Regions from separate parts of the Homo sapiens genome. Here region 2 is linked to region 1. Evidence: promoter capture Hi-C in 16 types of primary human blood cells and fetal thymus (Javierre and others, 2016). All regions are on one chromosome and are shown on one strand. Each heading gives the region's core, a stretch centred on a gene start or on the middle of the fragment in contact. The rest is flanking DNA. Distances are from core to core; before and after follow the strand shown.

What was found. The method cuts DNA at HindIII sites, captures the fragments that hold promoters and counts their contacts. A CHiCAGO score of 5 or more calls a contact.
Region 2: the fragment with the promoter of CBLN3 here is called in contact with the fragment with the promoter of RNASE6 in region 1 in 1 of 17 cell types (M0 macrophages); the score reaches 6.8 in M0 macrophages.

Annotation. Positions count from the first base shown.
Region 1 is chr14:20,777,568-20,784,283 of GRCh38, reverse strand. RNASE6 (ribonuclease A family member 6) reads right to left here and starts at 3,016. Exons shown (of 2, transcript NM_005615.5): 1 at 2,946-3,016; 2 at 1,817-2,589. The coding sequence starts at 2,584. The coding sequence ends at 2,132. The region is part of intron 1 of LOC107984671 (a long non-coding RNA gene); the gene reads left to right. RefSeq lists an enhancer at 1,872-1,941. The HindIII fragment of the contact is 1,450 bases long and covers 1,870-3,319 here.
Region 2 is chr14:24,424,202-24,430,917 of GRCh38, reverse strand. CBLN3 (cerebellin 3 precursor) reads left to right here and starts at 1,250. Exons shown (of 3, transcript NM_001039771.3): 1 at 1,250-2,163; 2 at 2,513-2,632; 3 at 2,932-4,373. The coding sequence starts at 1,864. The coding sequence ends at 3,129. KHNYN (KH and NYN domain containing) reads right to left here and starts at 964. Exons shown (of 8, transcript NM_015299.3): 1 at 799-964; 2 at 1-204. The coding sequence starts at 187. RefSeq lists enhancers at 1-233, 378-557 and a silencer at 588-1,127. The HindIII fragment of the contact is 4,979 bases long and covers 533-5,511 here.

The DNA of each region.
Region 1 (6,716 bases), core at 1,767-4,266:
CTCTGGCAATTTCCAGGTAATGTTCATATAAATCCATTCAACCCCTTTCCTTTCAGATGCTGCTACTTTCGTATACTTGTTCATACCAAACGTGAGCACAGATTCTCCCTGCCATTCCACCACACTTTACATGAAGACTCTGAGACAATAAAATGTAAATGCAACATGGCTTAAAGCTGAATACAACTGAAAGCTGCTTTGAGTTAGAGCACTCAAGTCCCACTGTAGGATTCCCTCTATAAGGTACCCACCTTCTTAGGTGCCATATTGCCCTGACCTGCTAATCTCTTCCCAATGGGAGGGCCCTTGATCAGTCATCACCCTGGAATCCAGGCTCCTGAAACCTCATATTCCATTCTTTGTTCCTAAGATATGACATAAATGTGTAGCGTAAAGGAAGGTGAGCTGAGTTAGCATATCTATTAAACTAATAGTCTGGCTTGGAAAGAATCATTTGCAGCACAGGTAATGAAGACACTACAATATGTAGCCTTTTCAAAAAAACTTCATTGTCTTTGGCTGCTACTTGAAGACTCATCACTGTACAAAGCACTTGGGATTTACACTGGCCCACTAGCCCAATGACTCTAGAGGTTGACAAGGAAACTGAAGTTCCTTCTGTGAAATGGCTTAGTTCAGGTTCTGTTCCAAAACCCCAATACTTCTGTGGTATTTCAGTATTTACATAGGACTAGAATGTTTTTAGTTTCCTAGTGCTTTTTTCTCTTTCTTTCTTTCCTTTTTTTTTTTTTTTTTTTGAGACGGGAGTTTCGCTCTGTCACCCAGGCTGGAGTGCAGTGGTGCAATCTCGGCTCACTACAGCCTCTGCCTCCCAGGTTCAAGCGATTCTCTTGCCTCAGGCTCCTGATTAGCTGGGATTACAGGCTCCTGCCATCATGTCTGGCTAATTTTTTGTATTTTTAGTAGAGATGGGGTTTCACCACATTGGCCAGGCTGGTCTCAAACTCTTGGCCTCAAGTCGTCTGCCTGCCTCGGCCTCCCAAAGTGCTGGGATTACTGGTGTGAGCCACTGCATTGGGTCTCCTGGTGCTTTTCTCTTTTTCTTTTTTTGTTTTTGAGATGGGAGTCTCACTCTGTTGCCCAGGCTGGAGTGCAGTGACACAATATTTGCTCACTGCAACTTCTACCTCCTGGGTTCAAGCGATTCTCCTGCCTCAGCCTCCCGAGTAGCTGGGATTACAGGCACTGCCACCACGCCCAGCTACTTTTTTTGTATCTTTAGTAGAGATAGCGTTTCACCATGTTGGCCAGGCTGGTCTTGAACTCCTGACCTCAGACGATCCACCTGCCTCAGCCTCCTAAAGTGCTGGGATTACAGGCGTGAGCCACCACGACAAGCCTAGTGCTTTTTTCTTGATCTATGCTTTCTATTTATCCATTTCAATAAATAATGGAGGATTGACCCTAAGGTTACTACAATGGATTATTATCCCTATTACTACTACTATCACCTTATATTTAAAACATTATCTGATTAAAAACGGAAACAAATAGAAAAGACATAGGATCCTTCAGTTGCCAGTGACAGAATCTATGTGTGAGTTATCATCAACTGTCTTTGAGGTATCAGTACTACCTCCAATTAAGCATAGACAATGGTTTCCAGGGGAATATATAAAGTCATGAGCAGAGTTTGAAGAAATGCTCCAAAGTCCCAAACGCTGTCCTTTCTTGTGGGCAAGGAAGTGGGGCCCCAGGGAGGCCTCAAAAGTTTTCTAGGGACTTAAAGTCAAAACAGTGTTCCTCTGAGTACCGGTCAACAATGCTTTGAAAGCGGATCTCAAACACACACTCATTAGAATGCAGCAGGAAGTGGTTTTATTGCTGTGAACACAGGGCAATAAAGCTTGGCAAAAGTTGCAGGGTTAGAAATCTGAATCTTTCTTTGCTGTCTTCCCTATTCCCTTCTCTCGAAAAGTACAGAACTACAAAGCAGAAAATAATCTTATTTCTTTTTGTCTCAACTCTGGTCTGGCATCCTAGGCACTCGAATTCTCCAAACACCTTTCTTCTTTCTTCTACGGGAACAAGAAAATCAACAAAAGAAAAGAAAACATGGATGCAATTGTAACAGAAGCTATGTCAAATGAAAGGAAATGCAGTGGATGCCTTAGAGAATACTATCTAAGTGTACAGGAACCAACTTGTAGGGGGGATCGCTCTTCTGAGGGGGGTCACAGGCAACAATGAAGAATTTGTACTGGGCAGCAGCACTATAGCGGCACTGGGGATACTTTCCTGAAGTGAGTCTGCAGTCAGTCATGTTGACAGGCTTTGAGCTCTGGTGGCAGTTGTGCCGACGATTTTTGCAGACAATGCTGAGCAAATCACAGACAGCAGCCACATTCTGGAAAGAGTCATGCAGAAAGGTATTTTGATGCTTACAGTGCTGGGTATAATTGTTGATGCCACTCATTGCCCTGTTGCATTGGAGAGGACTTGGCTGTATATGCTGAATTTCAAACCAGTGAGCCTTGGTGAGACGCTTAGGCCAAGCATGAAGTGGACACACTGGTCCCCATAGAACCAGCAGCAGTAAAAGAAGAGGAAAGCATAGCACCATCTTTTCTGTGTAGAAAGAGAGAAGATAGTTATAGTAGGAGAAGCAATAAGAGCAAAATTTTTAATCATAACTATTTAGATTTTTATTTTGCCTTTTAAGATTTTACAGCTCCCTTTAAAATCTTCTTTCTCACATAGTCTCACAATTCTATGAAGAACCTGAAGCCCAGGAAACAGAAATATGACCTCTCCTTTGATTGGCATATCCCATTTTCTTTCACAAGTACTCATGCATTTGATGGCTGTCATATCAGAAAGTTTCTTCCCTCTTCCCTCCTGAAATATTTACCCTCTATCTGACCACTACCTCCCAGCCGTCTTTACTGCTCTACTCGCTCCAGCCCTGAGGCTTTCTTTCTTACCTGGTCTCAGTGTTGGGGCTCCTGCTGAGAACAGAGGCTGTGATTAGTCCAAAGCTCAGAAGCTGTTGTCTGCCTTTCTTCTCTAACCCTTCGAGCCCTGTGTGTATAGGGAAGGGGAAGAAATATTCTGAGCTTTCAGAAGGAGAATCCTAGGGTTTGGCAGATTAACTTCTTGTGCAGAGTCTGGATTAAACTCTTAGACTTTCACACCTGTTCTTTAAAACAGTATCATTATCACATGTATACAGGAAGGCTAAACCAACTTAAAGAAACAACATGACTGAAAACTCACAGTTTTGAGGAACTGATCACTTCCTGATATGGAATGAGTGCTTCCTGCCTCATCTGAGGCTTCAGTGTTTTTTTTTGAAGCTTTATGATTCCTGTTTCTTAAGAGAAAATATGTCACATAAATATGATATAATGCCTGCCACATACTTGGTAATGTTGTAAGTTCCTACAACAGAAGTGAATACATTATTCATTTATGCATATACTTATTGGGCCAGGTACTAGGCTACACAAATTCAGGAGCTCATGAGTTTTTTTTTTTTTTTTTTTTGAGACGGAGTCTTGCTCTGTCGCCCAGGCTGGAGTGCAGTGGTGCGATCTTTGCTCACTGCAAGCTCCACCTCCTGGGTTCATGCCATTCTCCTGCCTCAGCCTCCCGAGTAGCTGGGACTACAGGTGCCTGCCATCACGCCCAGCTAATTTTTTTGTATTTTTAGTAGAGACGGGGTTTCACTGTGTTAGCCAGGATGGTCTCTATCTCCTGACCTCGTGATCTGCCAGGAGCTCATGATTTAATGAAAGAGATTAGAGACAGGCAGGTAAGTATATAGACAAGTAGATTATATTAATATAAATAGCACTTACAGTGTGATGGAGGACACTGCAGGAGGCTACGGGAAGATAGTAGAGGGGAAGGATTGTTGGAGGGCACAACACCTGAACTGAATTTTGAGGAATAATTAGAAGTTAGGTGAAGAGAGTGTTAAGCGCCTCCCAAAGACAGAATTGTGTATGAAAAGACCTGTAAGCCTGAAGAAGAAGGCCGAATTTAGGATATTTGCCTCTTGAATCTGTTCTTACCTTTTCACTGGTACTGCAACACCCTTATTCAGAAACTCATTGTCTTATGGAGGGCTCACATAAAAGCCTCCCACATGGACTCCTTGCCTTGTTTTTTTCTCCTTCCAATCCATTCTACATATTACTTCCAGATTAGTCTTTTTTTGAACAAGATATAATAGTACAACACTCTTGCCCCATGCTTTTATGGCTCCAAATGTCTGCAGAATAAACATAATGTCTGTTTATAGCAAGGTTGCAGGATACAAGGTTAATATACAAAAGTCAGTTGCTTTCTTATATACCAGCAATGAACAATTGCAATTTGATATTTAAAACACAATACCATTTATATTGCACCAAAGAAAGTGAAATACTTAGGTGTAAATCTAATACATTATGTAAAAATTGGTATGAGGAAAAATTTAAAACTCTAATGAAAGAAATTGAGGAAGCACAGATATTCCATGTACATGAGTAGGAATACTCAATATGTTAAGATGTCATTTCCTCTCAACTTGATCTATAGATTCAGCACAATCTCAATCAATATCCCAGCACATTATTTTGTGGATAGTGACAAACTGACTCTGAAGTTTATATAAAAGTAAAAGATTCAGGTTGGACACGGTGGCTCACGCCTGTAATCCCAGCACTTTGGGAGGCCGAGGCAGGCTGATCACGAGGTCAAGAGATCAAGACCATCCTGGCTAACACAGTGAAACCCCGTTTCTACTAAAAATACAAAAAATTAGCCAGGCCTGGTGGCGGGCGCCTATAGTACCAGCTACTTGGGAGGCTGAGGCACGAGAATCGCTTGAACCCGGGAGGTGGAGCTTGCAGTGAGCCGAGATCGCACCACTGCACTCCAGCCTGGGTGACAGAGCGAGACTCTGTCTCAAAAAAAAAAAAGATTCAGAATAGTCAACACAATGCAGAAAAAGAAGAACAAAGTCAGAAAACTGACGTGACCCAACTTCAAAACTTACTATAAAGCTACAGCAATTAAGACAGTGTGTTATTGGTGAAAAATAGACAAATAGGTCAATGGAACCAAGTAGAAAGCCCAGAGGTAGACCCACACAAATACAGTGAACTAATCTGTGACAAAGGATCAATTTTCAATTGAGAAAAGTTAGTCTTTTCAACAAATGGTAGTAGAACTGAATGTACACATGCAAAAAATAAATCTTTTCATAGGTTAGACTTCATACATTTTCATAGACCTGTACTTTATATCTTTCACAATTTTTTTTTGAGATGGAGTTTCGCTTTTGTTGCCCAGGCTGGAGTGCAATGGCATGATCTTAGCTCACCACAACCTCTGCCGCTCAGGTTCAAGTGATTCTCCTGCCTCAGCCTCCGGAGTAGTTGGGATTACAGGCATGCACCACTACACCCAGCTAATTTTGTATTTTTAGTAGAGACAGGGTTTCACCATGTTGGTGAGGCTGGCCTCGAACTCCTGACCTCAGGTGATCCGCCCACCTCGGCCTCCCAAAGTGCTGGGATTACAGGCGTGAGCCACCGCGCCTGGCACAAATGTTAATTCAAAATGGACCATAGACCTAATGCAAAATACAAAACTACAAAAATTCTAGAAAATAACATAGAAGAAAATCTAGGCAGCCTTGAGTTTGGCAATGATTTTTTAGATACAATACCAAAAGCACAATCCATGAAAGAAAAATATTGATAAGTGGAACTTCATTAAAATTGAAAACTTCTGCTCTGCAACAGATACTATTAAGAGAATAAAAAGATAAGCCAGAGACTGAGAGAAGATATTTGCAAAAGATATATCTGATAAAAGAACATTATCCAAAATATACAAAGAACTCAAAAAACCTCAACCATAAGAAAACCAACAACCTAGTTGAAAAATGGGCAAAACATCTGAATGGTATGGGGCAAAGACAATTTTTCCTCTCCCTCTGAAGGTTCAAAACTTCTGAAATGAACTGACAATAGACAGATTAACAGGAGAAAAAGGCATACAAATTTATTACTGTGCATAATCATGGGAACCATACAAATTATGAGACTCAAAGAAAGACTAAATAGTTGAAATTCATGTATTCTCTTCATAGGGGAGAGGAACATGGGGAAAATGTAGGCAATTTTGAGGAGTTTTAAATATTTTTTAGGGAACTGGCCCCAAATAGCAGACAATAGTTTGTAAATGAGTCTCTTTGGAAGCTGAATGGAAGGGTGACGAGTTATGGGAAGGTGAAGGGTGGAACTGCACTATGAACAAAGGTTGCCTTATTATACAGATAAAGTCTCTTAGGTACTCTTTTGGAGCTGCTCTTGGAAGAATAGATGAAAGGTCTATCTGAGTGTGGTGTGAAGAGACTTCTAGTCTCTTCTTTTTTTCAGGTGGCTAATATTTCCTGGTTATCTGATGAGATTTTTAGAAAGGGGGGTCTTAAGACAATTGCATTTCTTGGAAGAAGTTTTCCTTATCCAGACAAGGGAACTTCCAGAGAGAGCTCCTCTCTGCATTTGAGAGCTGGGGGAGGAATGAGAGAAGATTAGAACATCTTTGGTCCTGAGGCAGCTTCTAAGAAGTTTTGGTTTCTTTAATTCTTTAATTCTAGTTAAATTTAATTCTTTAATTTAATTTCTTTAATTCAAAAGTGCTCAGAATGCCATGCATCATAGTTTGTAGTATGATTCTCTGTACCCCAACACTTCACC
Region 2 (6,716 bases), core at 1-2,500, 3.6 Mb before region 1:
CGTTTTCCTTGGGGCCCTCCAGCTGCAGCCAGATGTGGGGGTTGTCCGGACAGTCCTTCGGAAGGACGCTCACCCCCACGCTGAAGATGCGCTCCACATGGGGCTGCTGTTCCCGAACCTTGTTCTCAGCCTCCGCAGACACCGCAAAGCGATCTGGGGACGCGGGGCGGGCCCCCCAGGTAGGCATGGCTGCTGCCCCCAGCCCTGGAAGGGGAGAAGGCAGCTCAGAGCCTCATTGTACCCTCCATCCAAATCCTGGTTCCTGGGACTACACCAGCTATCAACAGGTCGCACCTAGTTAAGGCTCTGGTAAACAGCCCCAGGAGGTGACAAGCATCTGAGTCCACTGGAGGTAGGGAGGGTGTATGTCACGCAGGCCTCTCCGGAGAGGAAGTCCCGGTAAACAAGGCTGTCTATCGAGAGTGGGCGTCTGGGCTTTGGAAAAGGATGACCACAGTCCGGAGCAAGAAGGGTGGGGGGGCTCCAGCTCGGCCTGGAGGCCAGAAGGAGTCTCCTGGGGCACTCTGAAGCTTCTTAAGGACGAATCCTCAGCAGGGGATTGAACTAGGCTGTCCTCTGGGGGCCCTGGTCTGCCATTTCCAAGGTTCAAGCCACTCCCACCCCTCCCCCAGCCGTCCGCTGCCCCTCTCCGTCGGGCCAGGAGCACCGCCCAGGGCCCAGGGGCCGGGCCGGGCCGGGCCCGCCCACCGCGGACTGGGGCAGCCACCCCGGGCCGGGCCTACTCCGCACCGCGGCCCCCGCTCCCCGCTCCCGGGCGCGGTGGAGGGGCGCGCCTACCGCCTCCGCCGCCCGCGCCGGCTTCAGGTCCTCTCAGCGCCCGCCAGGCCCCCGCTTTGCCCGCGCCCCCAGCCCAGGGGACAAGGGCAGGGGGCCCGAATCTGGGCGGGCCTTCCCGGGTTCCTCACCCAGCGGGGACCTCTCTTGTCCACATCGCACGCAAACTGTTTCTTGAGTCACTTCCTGGCCTGGGGCGGAGTCAGCCCAGCTCCTCCCGGCTGCGCGCCCTCCTCCCAACCCCGCCGCCGCGCCCAGAGGCCCCGACGGGCCCGCTCGGCCTAGTCCCCTCGGCGGCTCCAGGGCTCGCCCCTTGCGCTTCTCACCAGCCCTCCCGTCTGTCTCCCGGCCCTCAGGGTCCTCGCGCATTCTGCGCAGTTACTTCTCGGAAAGGGGAACCATGCGTTGAAAGTTGTTTCCCGCGAATAAAGATGTGGCCGACCAAAGAGGCAGCGTGACTGGCCCACTGGTGCTCTAGGCCCAAGCACTTTCCACCAAAGCAATCGTGGCGGAGGGGGTAGGCGGGAGGCGGGAGGCGGAGGGTACCCGTGGTGGAGTACCCCTTTCTTCCAACAAACGGAAAGATGCCACGAAGAAGGGCTGTTGATTTGTGGGGGATTTTGAAGAGAGGAAGAGTAGGAGGAAGGGGTTGAGGGGCTGCCTCTGGCATATGCACACACTCACACATTCTGTCACACCCGTCACACACACATACCATGTTCTCCATCCCCCCAGGTCCAGCCCTCAGTGCTGTCCCATCCAGCAGGGCTGCCCTGAAGCTCTGGCTGCAGCCCTCCCGTCCAGTGGGCAGGCGGCTTCATCCCTCCTTTCTCTCCCAAAGCCCAACTGCTGTCACTGCATGCTCTGCCAAGGAGGAGGGAACTGCAGTGACAGCAGGAGTAAGAGTGGGAGGCAGGACAGAGCTGGGACACAGGTATGGAGAGGGGGTTCAGCGAGCCTAGAGAGGGCAGACGATCAGGGTGCCGGCGGTGAGAATCCAGGGAGAGGAGCGGAAACAGAAGAGGGGCAGAAGACCGGGGCACTTGTGGGTTGCAGAGCCCCTCAGCCATGTTGGGAGCCAAGCCACACTGGCTACCAGGTCCCCTACACAGTCCCGGGCTGCCCTTGGTTCTGGTGCTTCTGGCCCTGGGGGCCGGGTGGGCCCAGGAGGGGTCAGAGCCCGTCCTGCTGGAGGGGGAGTGCCTGGTGGTCTGTGAGCCTGGCCGAGCTGCTGCAGGGGGGCCCGGGGGAGCAGCCCTGGGAGAGGCACCCCCTGGGCGAGTGGCATTTGCTGCGGTCCGAAGCCACCACCATGAGCCAGCAGGGGAAACCGGCAATGGCACCAGTGGGGCCATCTACTTCGACCAGGTAATCCCCCTACCCCTGTCCAGGGGACCTGGAAAGACCCTGCAAGGACCTGGAAGCAACTGTCCAAGCCCACTTTGCTGTCTCTGAGGCTTTAAGAAAACAGCTTCCTACATCTTTCACTAATCTGGCCTATTGCCCCACCACCCCACCGACGGTTTCCCCTCCCTCCACCCATACGCAGCCCTCTCCTTGCCCCTTCTCACCATTTCTTTTGAATCTGTTCACTCCTATTCACTCCTACTTGCCACTCCTTCTATTCATTACTCACTGCCCCTGCCCCTAGTCCCCATGGTACCCCTGAGCCATGGGCATTTCCTGAGCCCCACTCAGCAGGCTCTGCTTCCCCCAGGTCCTGGTGAACGAGGGCGGTGGCTTTGACCGGGCCTCTGGCTCCTTCGTAGCCCCTGTCCGGGGTGTCTACAGCTTCCGGTTCCATGTGGTGAAGGTGTACAACCGCCAAACTGTCCAGGTGACCTCAGCACTGGCCCCCATCCCCGGCTCAGGAGGGTGGGGAGGGGGAAGAAGGGGAGCCCAGCTGACCTCCGGGTGGACTCTCCATTGACCTGTGTCCTGGAGGCCAGGACCAGGGGAGGAATGGGCCTGCCTTGCATTGAGTGTGGAGGATGTGCAGAGTCCAATGCTGGCCGCCCCTCAGCCCTCCCGGGAGAGCCCATTAAAACCCAGCTTCCCAAGAGGAAGCTCCTGGGAAAGTGGGGGGTCCTGAGCTAAGGGCTGGGGAATGGGGGCTAACTGGGCTCCCCTCCCCAGGTGAGCCTGATGCTGAACACGTGGCCTGTCATCTCAGCCTTTGCCAATGATCCTGACGTGACCCGGGAGGCAGCCACCAGCTCTGTGCTACTGCCCTTGGACCCTGGGGACCGAGTGTCTCTGCGCCTGCGTCGGGGGAATCTACTGGGTGGTTGGAAATACTCAAGTTTCTCTGGCTTCCTCATCTTCCCTCTCTGAGGACCCAAGTCTTTCAAGCACAAGAATCCAGCCCCTGACAACTTTCTTCTGCCCTCTCTTGCCCCAGAAACAGCAGAGGCAGGAGAGAGACTCCCTCTGGCTCCTATCCCACCTCTTTGCATGGGACCCTGTGCCAAACACCCAAGTTTAAGAGAAGAGTAGAGCTGTGGCATCTCCAGACCAGGCCTTTCCACCCACCCACCCCCAGTTACCCTCCCAGCCACCTGCTGCATCTGTTCCTGCCTGCAGCCCTAGGATCAGGGCAAGGTTTGGCAAGAAGGAAGATCTGCACTACTTTGCGGCCTCTGCTCCTCCGGTTCCCCCACCCCAGCTTCCTGCTCAATGCTGATCAGGGACAGGTGGCGCAGGTGAGCCTGACAGGCCCCCACAGGAGCCCAGATGGACAAGCCTCAGCGTACCCTGCAGGCTTCTTCCTGTGAGGAAAGCCAGCATCACGGATCTCAGCCAGCACCGTCAGAAGCTGAACCAGCACCGTATGGGCTAGGGTGGGAGGCTCAGCCACAGGCAGAAGGGTGGGAAGGGCCTGGAGTCTGTGGCTGGTGAGGAAGGAAGGAGGGTGTATTGTCTAGACTGAACATGGTACACATTCTGCATGTATAGCAGAGCAGCCAGCAGGTAGCAATCCTGGCTGTCCTTCTATGCTGGATCCCAGATGGACTCTGGCCCTTACCTCCCCACCTGAGATTAGGGTGAGTGTGTTTGCTCTGGCTGAGAGCAGAGCTGAGAGCAGGTATACAGAGCTGGAAGTGGACCATGGAAAACATCGATAACCATGCATCCTCTTGCTTGGCCACCTCCTGAAACTGCTCCACCTTTGAAGTTTGAACTTTAGTCCCTCCACACTCTGACTGCTGCCTCCTTCCTCCCAGCTCTCTCACTGAGTTATCTTCACTGTACCTGTTCCAGCATATCCCCACTATCTCTCTTTCTCCTGATCTGTGCTGTCTTATTCTCCTCCTTAGGCTTCCTATTACCTGGGATTCCATGATTCATTCCTTCAGACCCTCTCCTGCCAGTATGCTAAACCCTCCCTCTCTCTTTCTTATCCCGCTGTCCCATTGGCCCAGCCTGGATGAATCTATCAATAAAACAACTAGAGAATGGTGGTCAGTGAGACACTATAGAATTACTAAGGAGAAGATGCCTCTGGAGTTTGGATCGGGTGTTACAGGTACAAGTAGGTATGTTGCAGAGGAAAATAAATATCAAACTGTATACTAAAATTACATTTTAAAAGTTGAATAATGTTTGAGTTAAATAGGAAATACCAAGGTGAATTTGTGGTTTTGAAAAGAAATAACTTTTTGAACTGTCACTAATCCTAAAAACAACATCAGGAACAATCTGATATCCATTCTTAGAAACTGGATCTTTGCTTCAGATATTAGTCACCATTAAAAAAAAATACCAAAAACCCTCAGGTTCCTTGGAGAATAGCTGCACACCTTAAGTAACTCCAGGCCCAGAACATGTTGTTGATGACAGAAAGCAAAGATACTTTTTAAATGTATAAAGTAAAGCTGAAAAGGCAAAGGAATCAATTTAAAGAAGCTCCCACTTGACATGCTTTGACAATTTGATTATCAAAAGGAAAATAATACAGTTAATTGGAACAAGGTGAATTTTTTAAATCCATGTACCTGCAATGATATTCAAAAAGGAAGAAGTCACTATAAAGTGTGACAAAAAGTAGTTAATATGCTGAGTGAAGAAGAGTGAATATAGGCTATTTTTAGTGAGTCGTGATAAGTACAAGAACATAAATATAGTAGGCATTTTGTCTATTTGCAAGGTACATTTGTTTTTCTTTATCTATGTAAGTAGGGAGGGGTGAGTACAGAGAACTGTGAATAATTCCAAGAAGATCTGGCACTGTGCCAAGAATGAAAGATACTGGTGGAACTATTTGAGTATATTTTGCAACTAAGAAGAAAAACAGTCCAATGGCGTGTTATAAGACAATGGATTAGTCAGATGTCCAAAAGACAACTGTTCACTGCTCAGGCTTGATCGTTCATCTCCTAGAAAATGGATCCTCTGTATTACCCCACTAATTATAATGAGATATTAATTAGGCAAAATGATTAAGAGTAGGTTTGGCTGTAACAGTAAAACCCAAAATAAGAATAGCTTAAACAAAATAGGAAATCATTTTTGTCTCACATAGAAAAATCTGTAAATAAGAGTCCAGGGATGGATGGCAGCCTTATGATCATTTGAAAGCCCAGTCTTCTGTCTTGTTCTACCATCCTTAGCTTGCCACCTCATGACCCAAGACGGCTCCCTGAGCTCCAGACATTACATCAGCCTAACAGGAAGGAGGAAGGAAGAAACAACACATCTCTTTCCTTGAAAGAAGCTTTCTGAAATATGCACCAATATTTCTGATTGTGTCTCAGTAGAATTTAGTCACCCGGGCTCACCAAGCCAGGGAGCTTGGCTAGGAGCTACAGTGTTTATTCCAGGCAGCCATGTCCAGCCAGAAGTTGGGAGTTTTATAACAAGGAAGAAGGGGAAATTAGCTATTGGGGAAGACAACTAGAAGTTGTTTTTTATTGTTGTTTTTTGAGGCAGAGTCATGCTCTGTCGACCAGGCCGGAGTGCAGTGGTGCAATTTCAGCTCACTGCAACCTCCACCTCCTGGGTTCAAGCAATGCTCATGCCTCAGCCTCCCGAGTAGCTGGGATTACAGGTGCGAGCCACCACACCCAGCTAATTTTTTGTATTTTTAGTAAAGATGGGGTTTCGCCATGTTGTCCAGGCTGGTATCAAACTCCTGGCCTCACGTGATCTGATTACAGGTGTGAGCTACCACATCTGGCCACAAAGTACTACCAACTTGGTGGCTTAAAACAACTGTTTATTACCTCACAGTTTCTGTGGGTCAGAAGTCCAACAAAACGTGACTGGCTTCTCTGCTCAGGGTTTCACAAGATCAAAAGCAAAGTATAAGCAGGGCAGCCTTCCTTACTGGAGGGGAAGAATCCACTTCTAAACTCATTTAAAGTTCAGTTCCTTACGGTTGTAGGACTTAGGTCCTAGCCCCCTCCATTCTCAAGCCAACAACTGCAAGCCAAGTCCTTCTCACACTTTAAATCTCTCAGGCCTACCTTTCTACCACATCTCTCTGACTTCAGTGTAGAAAGTTCTCTGAGTTTAGGGACTCGTGTGATTAGGCCCACCCAGATAAGCCAGGATAATCTCCCTATTTTAAGGTCCACAACCTGAATTGCATATTTGAAGTTCGTTTTGCCATGTAACATAACATATTCACAGGTTCCAGGGATTAAGGCATGGACATCTTCAGGACATCTGCATATCAGAGTCACTAAACTCAAAGATGGCATCATGTAGAGAAAAGGCATGCAGCTACAATACCACTGCATGGAAAACGTATGGGCTTGAAAATTTCCCATGATATATACAAGATAAATACCAGCTCAGATTTTAATCATTTTAGAAGGTGAACCAATTCCCAGGTCCCAACCAAAAATTCATTGATTAATAATCCAAAACTTGATCTACATTGAGATATATTTTTATTTTAGATATCTAAATTCAAAAAT